Linked DNA regions of Homo sapiens: all the other regions are linked to region 2. The links are contacts of gene promoters, found by promoter capture Hi-C in blood cells and fetal thymus (Javierre and others, 2016). All regions are on one chromosome and are shown on one strand. The core of a region is centred on a gene start or on the middle of the fragment in contact, and the rest is flanking DNA. Distances in the headings are between cores, read along the strand shown. Region 1 holds the start of PKDREJ (polycystin family receptor for egg jelly). Region 2 overlaps LOC105373069 (a long non-coding RNA gene). Region 3 holds the start of TRMU (tRNA mitochondrial 2-thiouridylase).

What was found. Contacts are between HindIII fragments. The CHiCAGO score rates a contact against its expected background, and 5 or more counts as called.
Region 1: the fragment with the promoter of PKDREJ here is called in contact with a fragment that was not itself captured in region 2 in 1 of 17 cell types (erythroblasts); the score reaches 5.5 in erythroblasts.
Region 3: the fragment with the promoter of TRMU here is called in contact with a fragment that was not itself captured in region 2 in 1 of 17 cell types (erythroblasts); the score reaches 5.0 in erythroblasts.

The regions. Positions count from the first base shown.
Region 1 is chr22:46,260,958-46,265,518 of GRCh38, forward strand. It overlaps PKDREJ (polycystin family receptor for egg jelly), which reads right to left and starts at 2,386. Exons shown (of 1, transcript NM_006071.2): 1 at 1-2,386. The coding sequence starts at 2,365. The HindIII fragment of the contact is 7,014 bases long and covers 794-4,561 here.
Region 2 is chr22:45,640,459-45,644,630 of GRCh38, forward strand. The region is part of intron 1 of LOC105373069 (a long non-coding RNA gene); the gene reads left to right. Among named protein-coding and RNA genes, the nearest start is that of ATXN10, 29 kb to the right of the region's middle. The HindIII fragment of the contact is 750 bases long and covers 2,122-2,871 here.
Region 3 is chr22:46,333,589-46,338,070 of GRCh38, forward strand. TRMU (tRNA mitochondrial 2-thiouridylase) reads left to right here and starts at 2,126. Exons shown (of 11, transcript NM_018006.5): 1 at 2,126-2,258; 2 at 4,191-4,356. The coding sequence starts at 2,177. RefSeq lists enhancers at 2,164-2,383, 2,216-2,715 and a silencer at 2,524-2,573. The HindIII fragment of the contact is 6,278 bases long and covers 1-3,512 here.

The DNA of each region.
Region 1 (4,561 bases), core at 1,136-3,635, 620 kb after region 2:
GTAGGGCTTGATTTGCTTGCCATACCCTCATGGTGGCACGTTTCTGAGCATCCCAAGTGAATTCAGAGGGTTTCTGGGTTAATTTGGTAATAGTCATGACTACCTGGCCAATTTCTACCAAAGTGCTTACAGGAAGAAGGAAAGACTGATCGATGAGGTGTTTTCGGAGATTGACTCTGTCATCTCGGAGAGGTAATTCAGTTTTCATGTTATTCAAAACGGAAGCTACTATATACAGTAAGTAACCTGCAGGTAAAAAATCCTTCTTTTGAATCAAAGTAGACAGCAATGAACTTGGTCCCACGGTGAAACTGAGTAACTGATTCAACACTGTCTTTGATGAATTTTTGTCAGTGGGAGCCTGTGCGGTGGCATGCAAAGTCACCTGAGAAAAAGCTCCTAGAGAATCATAGACCTGGGCATATATCTTCAAGCCATATTGACTAGCCAACATACCAACAGGGAGAAAGGAAGGGGGTACTGTGGACTGAGGCCCCAAGTACAGGATGGTCCCCAGGGTGTTCTCTTTTACTGAACTGATTTCACCAACACTGTGCAAATCAGAAACAATTATTTTATATGTAAGAGGGACGTGCTTATCCCTAAAATTACTACACTGGACAACAAATTTAGTAATAAGTGCAATTCCTTTAGCTGGATTAATTTTGCATTCTCCGATCTGAGGGCCATGGTTAATAATAAAAGAATGCCTGAAGACCGAGGTCACTCCACTCCAACATGCTAGATACAGAGAAATCGAAAACTCAGCTTCCAAAAAATGCCGAAAAGCAAAAGCTTTTATAGACAGATAAGCACCATTCCTTCCTGTTACAGTTTCCCCCATCCAATCAAATAGCATCTCACCACCTGAAGAAGACAAAATTGACCATTTATAGAAATCACGGCTTGCACAATTTGTGCAATTTAGGAACAAAGAAAATCTATCAGAGACAATGAAGTTTCTCTCACAATTTTCGATACATGTGATGTGTGCTATGGCTTTTGGTCCTTGGAGCACGTGGACCCTCTTATCAGAAAACGCTGTCCTAGAGTCCTTCCGAATCACCATTCTGAAGAAATACACGTGGTCGCCTTTAAGTGTTTCTGGCAAAAGTGTCAGTACAGGGCCCGAGGCCCAGGGCCATTTCAGATTGGCCTGCTCGGGGTGACAGACTTCCTTGCTCCCCAGGATTATTCGATCCCCACCGTAGTTTCTGGGATCTGTGGTACAGTACCAAAAGAACTGGAGTCCCTGTAACGGGCTGTCCGCATCTGGGTCCGAGGACGTGGACCCGTCCAGAATCAGCTGCTCTGTGAAATTAGCTGTTATGTTGGCATCGCCAAGCATCACCGCCTGCAGGGAACTCCTGACGATCCAGACATAGACGGCGTCCGAGTCTTTCACCTCGGGCATCTTGGGGTTCCCTGTGGTGATGGACACCGTGAAATTAAACACATACACTCCCCACTGTAACGAATTATTGGGGATGTGAATGAACAAGGGGCTGTTCCTGATCTCGAGCTGGGGCAGATCCAAGGGCTGCGTCCAGTCGGGCGCCTGACCCACGGCGGGCACGGAGAACACCTGCCAGTACTGGGCGATGGCGCGCGCGGCCGGGCAGTCCAGCTGCACCGAGGCGTTGATGGTGGCCTCCGCCTGCATGCTCAGGCGCACGGGGGCGCCCTTCTGGTCCGTGTTGATCCTCACGCGCTGGATGACGCAGGCGTTTATCTGACAGGACACGGACGACTCGACGGCTCTGTGGCTGGACGAGTTGACGGCCTGCAACATCACGCGCGCGGGGCCGTCTGTGGGGCACTCGGTGCGGGCCACGAAGCCCTGCTGGGGCCGCGGGCCTGGCGCGGCGGAGCGCGGGGAGACGCGGGCCGCGGGGGAGGCCGGGCGGGCGGCGCCGGGTCCGAGCAGCCGCAGGCGGAAGGCCCAGGCCAGGCGCCCGGGCGAGCGCGGCAGCCGCACGGACCACGTCAGGGAGAGGCGGCCGCCGCGCGCGGAGAGCTGCAGGTCGACGAGCGCGAGCGCGGGCGCGGCCGGCCAGGGCAGGCGTTGGGCGCTGAGCAGGACGCGCAAGTCGAGGCAGTACCAGCGCCGCCCGGTCCCGCCATGGGGGAAGCAGAGGCTGCCGCGGCCGCTCAGGACAGCGCCGCCCGCCCGCACCGCGCTGGGCCGCAGACTGAGGAGGGCGCGGCCGCCGCGCACCCCGAGGCCCGGGGCGCCCCTGAGGAGGCCACCGGGCGCCCCGGAGACGGCGGCTTGTGCCCCGCGAGGAACCGGCGGCAGCGGGAGGCGGCCGACGCTCAGGCTCAGGCCCACGCCCAGAAGGAGGAGAGCGGGCCCAGGCCTCATGGCGCCGGCCCAGGAGAAGCTGGGAGAGGCCGCGAGGCGCGCCCAACCGCCACCGGGGTCGCGGGGATAGTGAGGGTCTTGGGGACAGTGGGGGTCTCGGGCGTCGAAGGGCGCTGGCAGAGGGGTCCCAGGGACAGAGTCCCAGAGAGCAGCTGGGACCTCGGAGCTTGGGGTCAGTCGGCACTGGGGACTTCTTGGGTACCTCTTCCCTCTCCGTCCCCAAGTGTGTGCAGGCCCAGGGTCAGGATGGCTCAGGAGGGCAGTTCAGCCCCGTGCAGACCACAGAGCTGACCACGGAGAAGGGGCTTCAGCAGGAACCCTTGGGAAAGCCAGTCACAAAATGGGAGATCAGGAGGGAACCGTGAGATCCCTGGGCGCCCAGGAAGGTCTGACTCTCGGTTTCTTACTTTGGGGTCGCTTTGCTCTTTTCTTTCTAGTTGGTTTGGGGGTTTTGTTTTTTGTTTGTTTGTTTGTTTGTTTGTTTTTTGAGACGGAGTCTCTGTCACCCAGGCTGGAGTGCAATGGCTTGACCTCAAGTGATCCACCCACCTCGGCCTCCCAAAGTGCTGGGATTACAGGCATGAGCCACTGTGCCTGGCCTCATTCTTTAACTCTGTCCATTTTTGCTGTATATTTTGGGACTTGATTGATGGATTGAATGATTTTAGAGACAGGGTCTTGCTCTGTTGCCCAGGCTGGAGTGCAATGGTGCAATCATAGCTGACTGTAACCTTGAACTCCTGGGCTCAAGGAATCCTCCTGCCTCAGCCTCCCATACTACAGGTCTACACCACTACACCTGACTGATTTATTTTTTATTTTTGTAGAGATGGTGTCTTGCTGTGTTTCACAGGCTGGTCTCAAACTCGTGGTCTTAATTGGCCCTCCCCTGTATTAGTCCGTTTTCATGCTGCTGATAAAGACATAACCAAGACTGGGAAGAAAAAGAGGTTTAATTGGACTTACAGTTCCATATGGCTGGGGAGGCCTCAGAATCATGGCAGGAGGCAAAAAGCACTTCTTGCATGGCAGTGGCAAGAGAAAATGAGGAAGACGCAAAAGCGGAAACCCCTGATAAAAGCATCAGATCTCCTGAGACTTATTCACTACCACAGAACAATATGGGGGAAACTGCCCCTGTGATTCAGTTATCTCCCACCCGGTCCCTCCCACAACATGTGGGAATTATGGGACTATAAGATGAGATTTGGGTGGGGACACAGAGCCAAACTATATCATTCCACCCCTGCCAAATCTCATCTCCTCACATTTCAAAACCAATCATGCCTTCCCAACAGTCCTCCAAAGTCTTAACTCATTTCACATTAACTCAAAAGTCCACAGTCCAAAGTCCTGTCTGAGACAAAGGAAGTCGCTTATGCTTATGAGCCTGTAAAATCAAAAGCAACTGGCTGGGCGCAGTGGCTCACCCTGTAATCCCAGCACTTCGGGAGGCTGAAGCGGGCAGATCACCTGAGCTTGGGAGTTTGAGACCAGCCTGACCAACATGGAGAAACCCCATCTCTACTAAAAATACAAAATTAGCCGGGTGTGGTGGTGCATGCCTGTAATCCCAGCTACTCGGGAGGCTGAGGCAGGAGAATCGCTTGAACCCGGGAAGCAGAGGTTGCGGTGAGCCAAGATCGTGTCATTGCACTCCAGCCTGGGCAACAGGAACGAAACTCTGTCTCAAAAAACAGAAAAAAAATCAAAAGCAAGTTAGTTATTTCCTAGATACAGTGGGGTACAGACATTGGGTAAAGACAACCATTCCAAATGGGAGAAATTGGCCAAACAAAGGAGTTATAGGGCCCATGCAAGTCTGAAATCCAGTGGGGCAGTCAAATCCTAAAGCTCCAAAATTATCTCCTTTGACTTCATGTCTCAAATCCAGCTCATGCTGATGCAAGAGGTGGGTTCCTATGGTCTTGGGCAGCTCCGCCCCTGTGGCTTTGCAGGGTACAGCCTCCCTCCTGGTTGCCTTCGTGGGCTGGTGTTGAGTGTCTGCAGCTTTTCTAGACTCATGGTGCAAGCTGTTGGTGAATCTACCATTCTAGGGTCTGGAGGATGGTGGCCCTCTTCTCACAGCTCCACTAGGCGGTGCCCCAGTAGGGACTCTGTGTGGGGGCTCTAACCCTACATTTCCCTTCCACACTGCCCTAGCACAGGTTCTCCATGAGAGCCTTCCCCCTACAG
Region 2 (4,172 bases), core at 1,247-3,746:
GTCAGGAAGTTGTGCTGGGGGCAGGGAGGGGCCTGCCCTCAGGTGCTGGTTGGCCTTGGTGGAGAGTGGGGAGTGCTAGGGGCTGGGAAGACTCCCCTGGGTCCCAGAGGGAAGGGCTGTGGAGGTGCTTGACTTTCCCACCTCATTGTGATGCGTCCAGGTGTGAGATACACGCACCTAACTACCCCTTTGAAGGGATAGGGCTGGCAACTCGCAGGCCTCAGAATGAGGGCACACAGTAGCCCTAGGGTCAGCTGGGCCCTTTGTCTTTGTGGCAGCTACACTCAGCCTGAAGGGCAGCCAAGCATTCACATCTGCCAAGAACCTGGGACTGAATCCTGGAACACAGTCTACACGTCTCCCATCCCAGGTCTAAAATGGGAAGGTGGACAGGGGAGGAAGCCGAGAGAGGGTCACCCCCGCCCTCCCCTTCCACCCTGGAAGAGGCAAAGGGGTGCTCCCTTACCCACGTTTTGTTGATTGGACAGTTGAATTCAGAGAGGTTGCCCGATGGACCAGAAGAAACACAGCCAGGAAGAAGCCGTGGTAGCCCAGAGCAGGAGCCCCTGAGGCCCGTGCTCCTCCCTCAGGCTTGTGGGGCTCAGTCCAGTCCCGCGCCCTCCTCTCCAGGGAGCAGCCAGGCTGGGTTCACAGCGCTCTTGCTCCAGTCCACAGTCTCTGCTGGGTTTGGGCGAGTGCAAGGCACAGTAGCCCAGAATCCCAGCTCCCAAATCCCATGAGCTTTGCCACGGCTCAAGCTTCTGGGCCCATCTGGAAACGATGCTGCCGGCCTTACGGGGTGCCTGTGGGGTTCATGGGCCGGCGTTTGAAGAGGCAGTGGTGGTAGGGGCCCGGAGAGCAGGGCTGGGGCTGGTCCCTGTGGGACGGTCACCCCCAGAGGAAAGGTGTGGAAGGCACAGGTGGACTCTCATGGGGCTCTCAAATCACCCGAGATGAAGGTTCAGTGCAGTCCCCAGGCACAGACCCCAGAGATCCTGACTGGGAGGTCTGGCGTGGGGCCCCAAAAGGTGTAATTTTCCCCAGCACTGCAGGTGTGGGGTCCGAAGCAGGTGGTCCGTGCACGGCACTCAAGGCCTTGGTCCAGCGTCAGTGCGGGGTTCGTGCAGCAGCCACATGGGCTGACTGCCGCTGGCCCTGGGAAGACAGGGCAGGATGAGGCTGGGCATCCCCCTGGGCTTGGGACACAGAGGGAACACACGGATGTAGGGTGTGAGCCTACAGTGCATCCTCTGCTCCCCAAAGTGTGCCACCATTCAACATAAAGCCCGTTGCATTTGCTGTCCACGCAGCCTTCAGTGAACCTGTCTATGGGCACACTCTCAGAATCAACAAATTACGGGGCTCGAAATCAAAATCCGCCTCTTCCCCCTATACCAGAAAGGCCTGTCTGTGCCCAAATGTTGAGGGAAATGGATCTGCCTTGACCCTTTCCTTTGGCGCGATCTCAGCTCACTGCAACCTCTGCCTCCAGGTTCAAGTGATTCTCTTGCCTCAGCCTCCTGAGGAGCTGGGACCACAGGTGCGCACCACCACACCCAGCTAATTTTTGTATTTTTAGTAGAGACGGGATTTCGTCTTGTTGGCCAGGCTGGTCTCGAACTCCTGGCCTCATGTGATCCACATGCCTCCGTCTCCCAAAGTGCTGGGATTACAGGCATGAGCCACCGCGCCTGGCCACCCTCTCCTTTCAATGAAACGCTTTTACCTTGGTTTACAGACTCAGATGAGATACTTCCCATCTGTTCATAAAGGGAACAGATTCTGACTTGTGTTCTAATCTTGAGTACCAAAAACTCCCCTAGAAGGGAGCTCTGCATTTTCAGAGGCTCACCCACGTGCCCATGTAGGGTCTGAGAAAGGTCCTGCATGGGTGAGTGATTTAGGGACAGGCGGTAAACTGAGGAAGTGACACAAAGCCTCCTGCACAGAGATCCCACATTCTACCTGGTATTACTCCCATTCTCTGCACTGCTGACAGCTCTCAAACAGATTCTTTCCACGAGGAATTAGCCCGCACACAACATGAATGGGCTCGTTTTATATCAGAAGGCTGAATTTTAACTGACAAATTGGACAGGTTCCCTAAGGCAAGGGTTGCTAAGCTTTGTCATTCTCGCTAAAAATGTGATTTATAATATATTTCTATTTGCTAGACACTCCTTTTCCCAGGAATGAAGACCCAGCCCAGAAACAGGAGGTCTGCTCAGTATCTTGACCCCATATAAAAATATGCTCCTCAAAAGTTTTCATTAGCATATAAACAGATATGCATCAATCAATCTGCAGCATGGCCACGTCAGCTTTATTTCATTATGTTTTAATGATATTTTAAGCAGCCAAACTCTTAGAATTCAGGACAGGGCAAGAGTAACCCACAATTTACTTTAGAATTTTATGTTTTAAAGGAAAGATCTAAGGGTCTGATGAAAGGAGTTGTATTTCCTCGGATCTTTTCTTCCACTTTATAAAATAAAAACCATTTTTGTTGCTTCTTAAGTACTCTGGTATTTACAAATGCAGAATATGTCAGATATTAGAGATCAACCCACACCTTCAGCCAAGTTTCCTCAGAGATCCTTTGTAAAAAAAAAAACCACACACACAAAAAGTGGGTGAAACCGTCTGACTTCTTAGAAGTCTGAGTTAAAAGTTGCAAACTCATTTTGCCCAAGATAACCAGAAATGCTCTAAGCTAAGTGGGCAGAAACAGATTTGATCTCTGTATCTGATTGCTGGCAGAAGTCAAGCAGCCAATTTTTCAACAATGTCTCCATATCATGAAACTTCCTAAAAATCTTCAAGGGAGTAACCTGAGCTTGTGAAAAATGATCCCGAATGTCAATAGGACAAAGCTTCCCTTCCAAGATATAATTAGGGGAGCTTGGAGCAGGCCTTTCATATTTGAGTTGACAAGCATCTTTTTTCCTTTGTTCAGTCTGTTCTGGAGGGCTTTAGGAGGGCTTCGCCATTTCTTTGTTAAGAGGAATGGTTGAAACAAAATTTGTATAAGAGGAATCATTTAAAATTGAATCCATCCAATAGGAATGTTTATTTTACCCAACGTTTTTCTGTGTGAGAATAATACCTGTTTTTTCTAGGTAATATATGTCTTTTATTTAATCACATGCATATTTAAGCCTCTAAGTTCTCTGTTCAAAACACTGATTTTTTTTTTTTTTTTTTTTTTTTTTTTTGAGACAGGTCTCGCTCTGTCGCCCAGGCTGGAGTGCAGTGGCGCTATCATGACTCACTGCGACCTTGACCTCCCAGGCTCAAGCGATCCTCCCACCTTAGCCGCCCAAGTAGCTGGGACTACAGGTGTACATCACCATGCCCAGCTAATTTTTCATAGAGATGGGGTTTCACCATGTTGTGCAAGCTGCTCTTGAACTCCTGGGCTCAAGCAATCTGCCCACCTTGGCCTCCTAAAATGTTAGGATTCCAGGCATGAGCCACCGCACCTGGCCCGTAACACTGATTAAAGACATACAGATCGGCCGGGCGCGGTGGCTCACGCCTGTAATCCCAGCACTTTGGGAGGCCGAGGAGGGGGCAGATCACGAGGTCAGGAGTTTGAGACCAGCCTGGCCAGCATGGTGAAACCTTGTCTCTACTAAAAATACAAAAAATTAGCCAGGCATGGAGGGATGCGCCTGTAATCCTAGCTACTCGGGAGGCTGAGGCAGGAGAATCACTTGAACCTGGGAAGCAAAGGTTGCAGTGAGCTGAGATCCCGCCACTGCACTCTAGCCTGGGTGACAGAGTGAGACTCCATCTCGGAAAAAAAAAAAAAAGATATACTGATCATATGAGCAAAGCATTGCTAAGAAGGCTGATGTAATTGTTAGGCTCCACTGAGAGACGCCTGGTGTCTAGAACTTACGATGTCCAGGCTGGTGGGAGCTGGCCTGGAGTTGGTACCCCGTGGCGATAGAAACATGAATGCATGAAGAGTATCTACAGAAGGGACCAGAACCTTGAGAAGACTCAGAACTCTCAAGCAGAGGCCGGTTGCGATGGCTCAAGCCTGTAATCCCAGCGCTTTGGGAGGCCGAGGTGGGCAGATCACTTGAGCCCAGGAGTTCGAGACCAGCCTGGCCAACATGGTGAAACCCCCACTCTACTAAAAATACAAAAATTAGCCGGGGGTG
Region 3 (4,482 bases), core at 876-3,375, 690 kb after region 2:
CAAAGCAAGCTGTGCCTCGACCACCTTGGGCACATATCCTCAGGACATCATCCTGAGGCTGTGTCACTGGCATGTCCTTAACCTTGGCAAAATAAACTTTCTAAATTGAAACCTGTCTCAGGTACTTTGGGTTCATACCACAAGGGAGGGTTCTCATGCACATGTGCCTAATAATAACAACTATCACAAAAGACTGCAAAAACCACAACTTTACACAAAGGCTATCGTAACCTTCCTCAAAAAAAAAAAAAAAACAAAAAACTTCTGTTGCAAGGACATCTGCCCAGCAACTGCTTGTCCAACCCTGGAGTGCTGTCACCCTTGTTATTGATCTTTGTAGCCAAAGAATTATCTCAAAACAATGATGTGATCCTCATTTTCCCTTTAAAAACCTTTGTCTTCCTAGGCCGGGCACTGTGGCTCACGCGTGTAATCCCAGCACTTTGGGAGGCCGAGGCGGGCGGATCACAAGGTCAGGAGATCAAGACCATCCTGGCCAACATGGTGAAATGCCGTCTCTACTAAAAATACAAAAATTAGCTGGGTGTGGTGGCATGTGCCTGTAATCCCAGCTACTCCGGAGGCTGAGGCAGGAGAATCGCTTAAACCCGGGAGGCGGAGGTTGCAGTGAGCTAAGATCACGCCACTGCACTCCAGCCTAGTGACCAAGTGAGACTGTCTCAAAAAAATAAATAAATAAAATAAAAACCTTTGTCTTCCTTTACTTCCCTGAATACCCACATAGCTTATTGTGGCATGCATATTCCCATTGCAATGCCCTATTCACAAATGAACATCTTTTTCGTTCAGAGTCTCCCTGTGCTTTAGGTAGACCTTGTCTAGATGCTAACTCGTAGAGAAGAACTCAGCTTGAATATCACCCCTGGGGGATGACCTCCATTCTCTCCTCCTTCCTTTATTCAGCGAGGTTATGAAGCACCTGCCCTGGGCCAGGGGCTTTTCTGGGCATGGAGTAGGAGTGGACAGAACACAAAACCCCTGTCCAACACACCTCACAGACATTAAGGATTGAGTGCTGAGTATGCTTGGAGTCAAACTGTAAAAGATTTGAAGATATTTATTCATGTCATAGTCCCAGGAGATCCTGAGAACACGTGCTCAAACTGGTGGTGCTACAGCTTTTGGTTTCGTACGTTTTAGGGAGACATAAGCCATAAATCAATACATGTAAGATGTAACATTGGTTCCGGAAAGGTGGGACAACTCGAAGGTGGGGTGGGGCTTCCAGGTCATAGGTGGATTCAAAGATTTTCTGGGCCGGGGGCAGTGACTCACACCTGTAATCCCGCCACTTTGGGAGGCTGAGGTGGGCGGATCCCTTGAGGTCAGGAGTGAGAGACCAGCCTGGCAAATACGGTGAAACCCCGTCTCTACTAAAAATACAAAAATTAGCTGGGCTTGGTGGCGGGCGCCTGTAATCGCAGCTACTAGGGAGGCTGAGGCAGGAGAATCGCTTGAATCTTGGAGGTGAAGGTTGCAGTGAGCCGAGGTCGCGCCCACTACACTCCAGCCTGCGACAGAGCAAAACTCCATCTCAAAAAAATTTAATTAATTAAAAATTAAATTAAATTAAAATACTGTAAAATACTTCGATATCTTTCAGGGCCTGCCATCTGTCATGTCGGTATCCTATTGCTACGGAGAGTCCGCCTAGACAGTCTTAAGTCTGTTTTGACGTTAATGCTGGTCCGAATTCCAAAGGGAGGAGGAGGGTCTAGTGAGGCGGGTCCCACCCGGCCTTTCCCATCAGAGCCCGAACTCGCGGTTCAGGTTCCCTCTAGGACGCCCTTGGCCGAGAGGAGGCCTCCAATGGCTGGCTGGGGGGCTTAGAATTTTATTTTTGGTTTACAGCGCAGAAGAAGAGCAGTGAGGCCGGGGCGCGGGTGGGGAGGGCAAGGCGGCGGCTCAAAAAAAAAGCCAGCCCCTCGCGGCCCGACAGAGTCTCGGCGCCCCGCGGGTCGGTGGAGCCTCAGGGGTGAGCGCAGGCCGGAGACAGGGGAACCCGCCGCGGGACAGGGGAAGGCCGGACGGAACGCGGGTAAGCTGCCGCAGCTTCCGGCCGGGCCACTAGCGCGGACCCTACGGCCGGGGCGGGACTTCCGGCAAGGCGCGGAAGCGGCGGTAGCTGCAGCTGGCGAAGTTGGGCGACTGGCGGATGCAGGCCTTGCGGCACGTCGTGTGCGCCCTGTCCGGCGGCGTGGACAGCGCCGTGGCCGCGCTGCTGCTGAGGCGGAGAGGTGAGGCGTCCGAGGCTCCCGCCCCCCGCCGAGCGAATGTGTCCCCGGAAACCTGTCCCCGTCCGTCGTGGCGTTGTGCACGTCTCCTCCCTCCCTGGGCCGCTGGTTGCGCGCGGGTCGGCAGGAGGATACCCCGTCCTCTGACTTTGGTTCGGAGGCTCCTCGCCCTCCACCTGTGTAGTCGGAGGTGTGCGCGACTGCAGCTCCGACTACCTGGGAGCAGTTCCGCGCCCCTCTCCACCCACGCGCGCCCACCCACAGTGAGAAGCCGGCGGGCCGGGGTGGGGTGGGGAGGGAAGGGTTTCTCACGGATCTGCGGCGTCCACATTCACCTGTGAGACCGTGGACACTGGTGAGGGGAGCTGGGATCGCCGGGCCGGGGGCCTGACCTCTGCACACGCTGTGGCCGCCCGGTGGGAGGTCCTTGTCCTCCCCACTCAGCAGACTGGACAACTGCCGCGCGGCGGGTCTGCTTGTTCAGCGTCTCCTGTGTTCTCCGCTCGCTGGAGGACAAAGTTTTCTCCAGGAGCATTTGCATTTCTTCCGGCATCTAAACGGAGCCCCACGGGTGCTTAGCATTCCTCGGGCCCGGCGCTGAAATGAGCACTTGTTTAACTTCACCTGTGTGGCTCCCCGCGGGAGGCCTCATTCACAGAGTCACGTTTGTGGAGCTCTGCTTTGCGCCATCTTTGGCTCCTGACCTTGGGCAAGTGAATTAAGCCGTCCCCTGTAAAATTCGGCTAACACCTGCCTCACGGGGTGACTGGAGGGATTAGATGACATAGTACATACTGATGAGTACGTGCTCAGCACATACGAGGTACGCAGAAAACAGTAGTGGCTATTAGTTTATATTGTTAATAACCATAGCTATTATGGTAGGTACAGTAAGTGCCAAAGAGAAGGGTAGGCGGACCATAAGCAGAAATAGTTGTGAGGAAGGGAGAGTGGAGGAAAGCATCCTAGAGATGGAGGTGCTCAGCTGAGTCGAAAGAAGAGTAGGATGTCACTAAGCAGAGACTTGGAGGTGGAGGCGGCCCTCCCGGCACAGTCAGCAGTGCAAGCAGAATCACAGAGGCCTGCAAGTGTGGGCTGGTTCTGGCCAGATGGAGATGGAAGGAGAGGAGCCTGGAGCACGTTTAGCCCTGATTATGGAAGATGCTATACCAGGGGCTTTAGACTGTTAGGTAGACATTAGTCTGGTTGATCTGGGATAGGGGTGGTCTTTCGCGTGTGGTGGTGTAGTTTTGACAAAGCTTTGTCATCAAATTTCTGTTGTTTTGGGTACTATATGAAGCCTTCTTCAGCAGTCATTTGCCCTGTCTTTCATTACATTCAGCCTACCTAAACGAACCAGCTTTCTCATACAGGGTCTGCACCTGTGTAGTTTGCTAAGGTGGTGTAGGGCTAAAGTTGGCCTTTCCAATATTTGGGTGAATATTTTGTTACAATCGAAAAGGTAGAAAATAGGTCATAAACTAGGTGGTACAGCTCTTACAAAATATCGAAAATTTTAATTATCTTTATATCTGATCACTTAGAATCTAAGTCTTAGATAGTAACTAGAAATAACTTTTGAAAAGAGTTTCCTTTTTTGATAACTGAATGGTGCTTTGAAAAATTTTGTTGAGTTTCGACTATTCCTTCGTGTATTCCACACACACTGGCTGATCCCCTCCTGCTAGGTATTGTGCTGATACATAGATGGGGACACAAAGATGAGAAAATACCACCTCGTTAATCTTGGGGACTCAGGCACCAAGATGGAAACCGGATCCCTGAAGCCACATGGCAAAGCAGGGACTGCCCGGCAGGCCAGGCACAGAGGCACAGGAGCACAGCGTGTGGGGAACTTCTCAGAGCTCAGAAATCACTGCCGTTTTACCGAAGGTTGATTTATGTATTCTCTTTAATTGACCTTCCCGCCCGCAGGTTACCAGGTGACAGGGGTGTTTATGAAGAACTGGGACTCACTGGATGAACATGGGGTCTGTACTGCCGACAAAGACTGTGAAGATGCTTACAGAGTTTGCCAGATCTTAGACATCCCTTTCCATCAAGTGTCCTACGTAAAGGAGTATTGGAATGATGTGTTCAGGTGAGTGCGGGTCACAGCACAAAGGAAGCTTCCTCACACTGTGGATCCTTGCAGTGGAAGGATCCGGTAACCAGCCAGACCGACGCCTGTGCTGCAGCCCAGCGCTCTCCCTCCACGGTGGTGCTG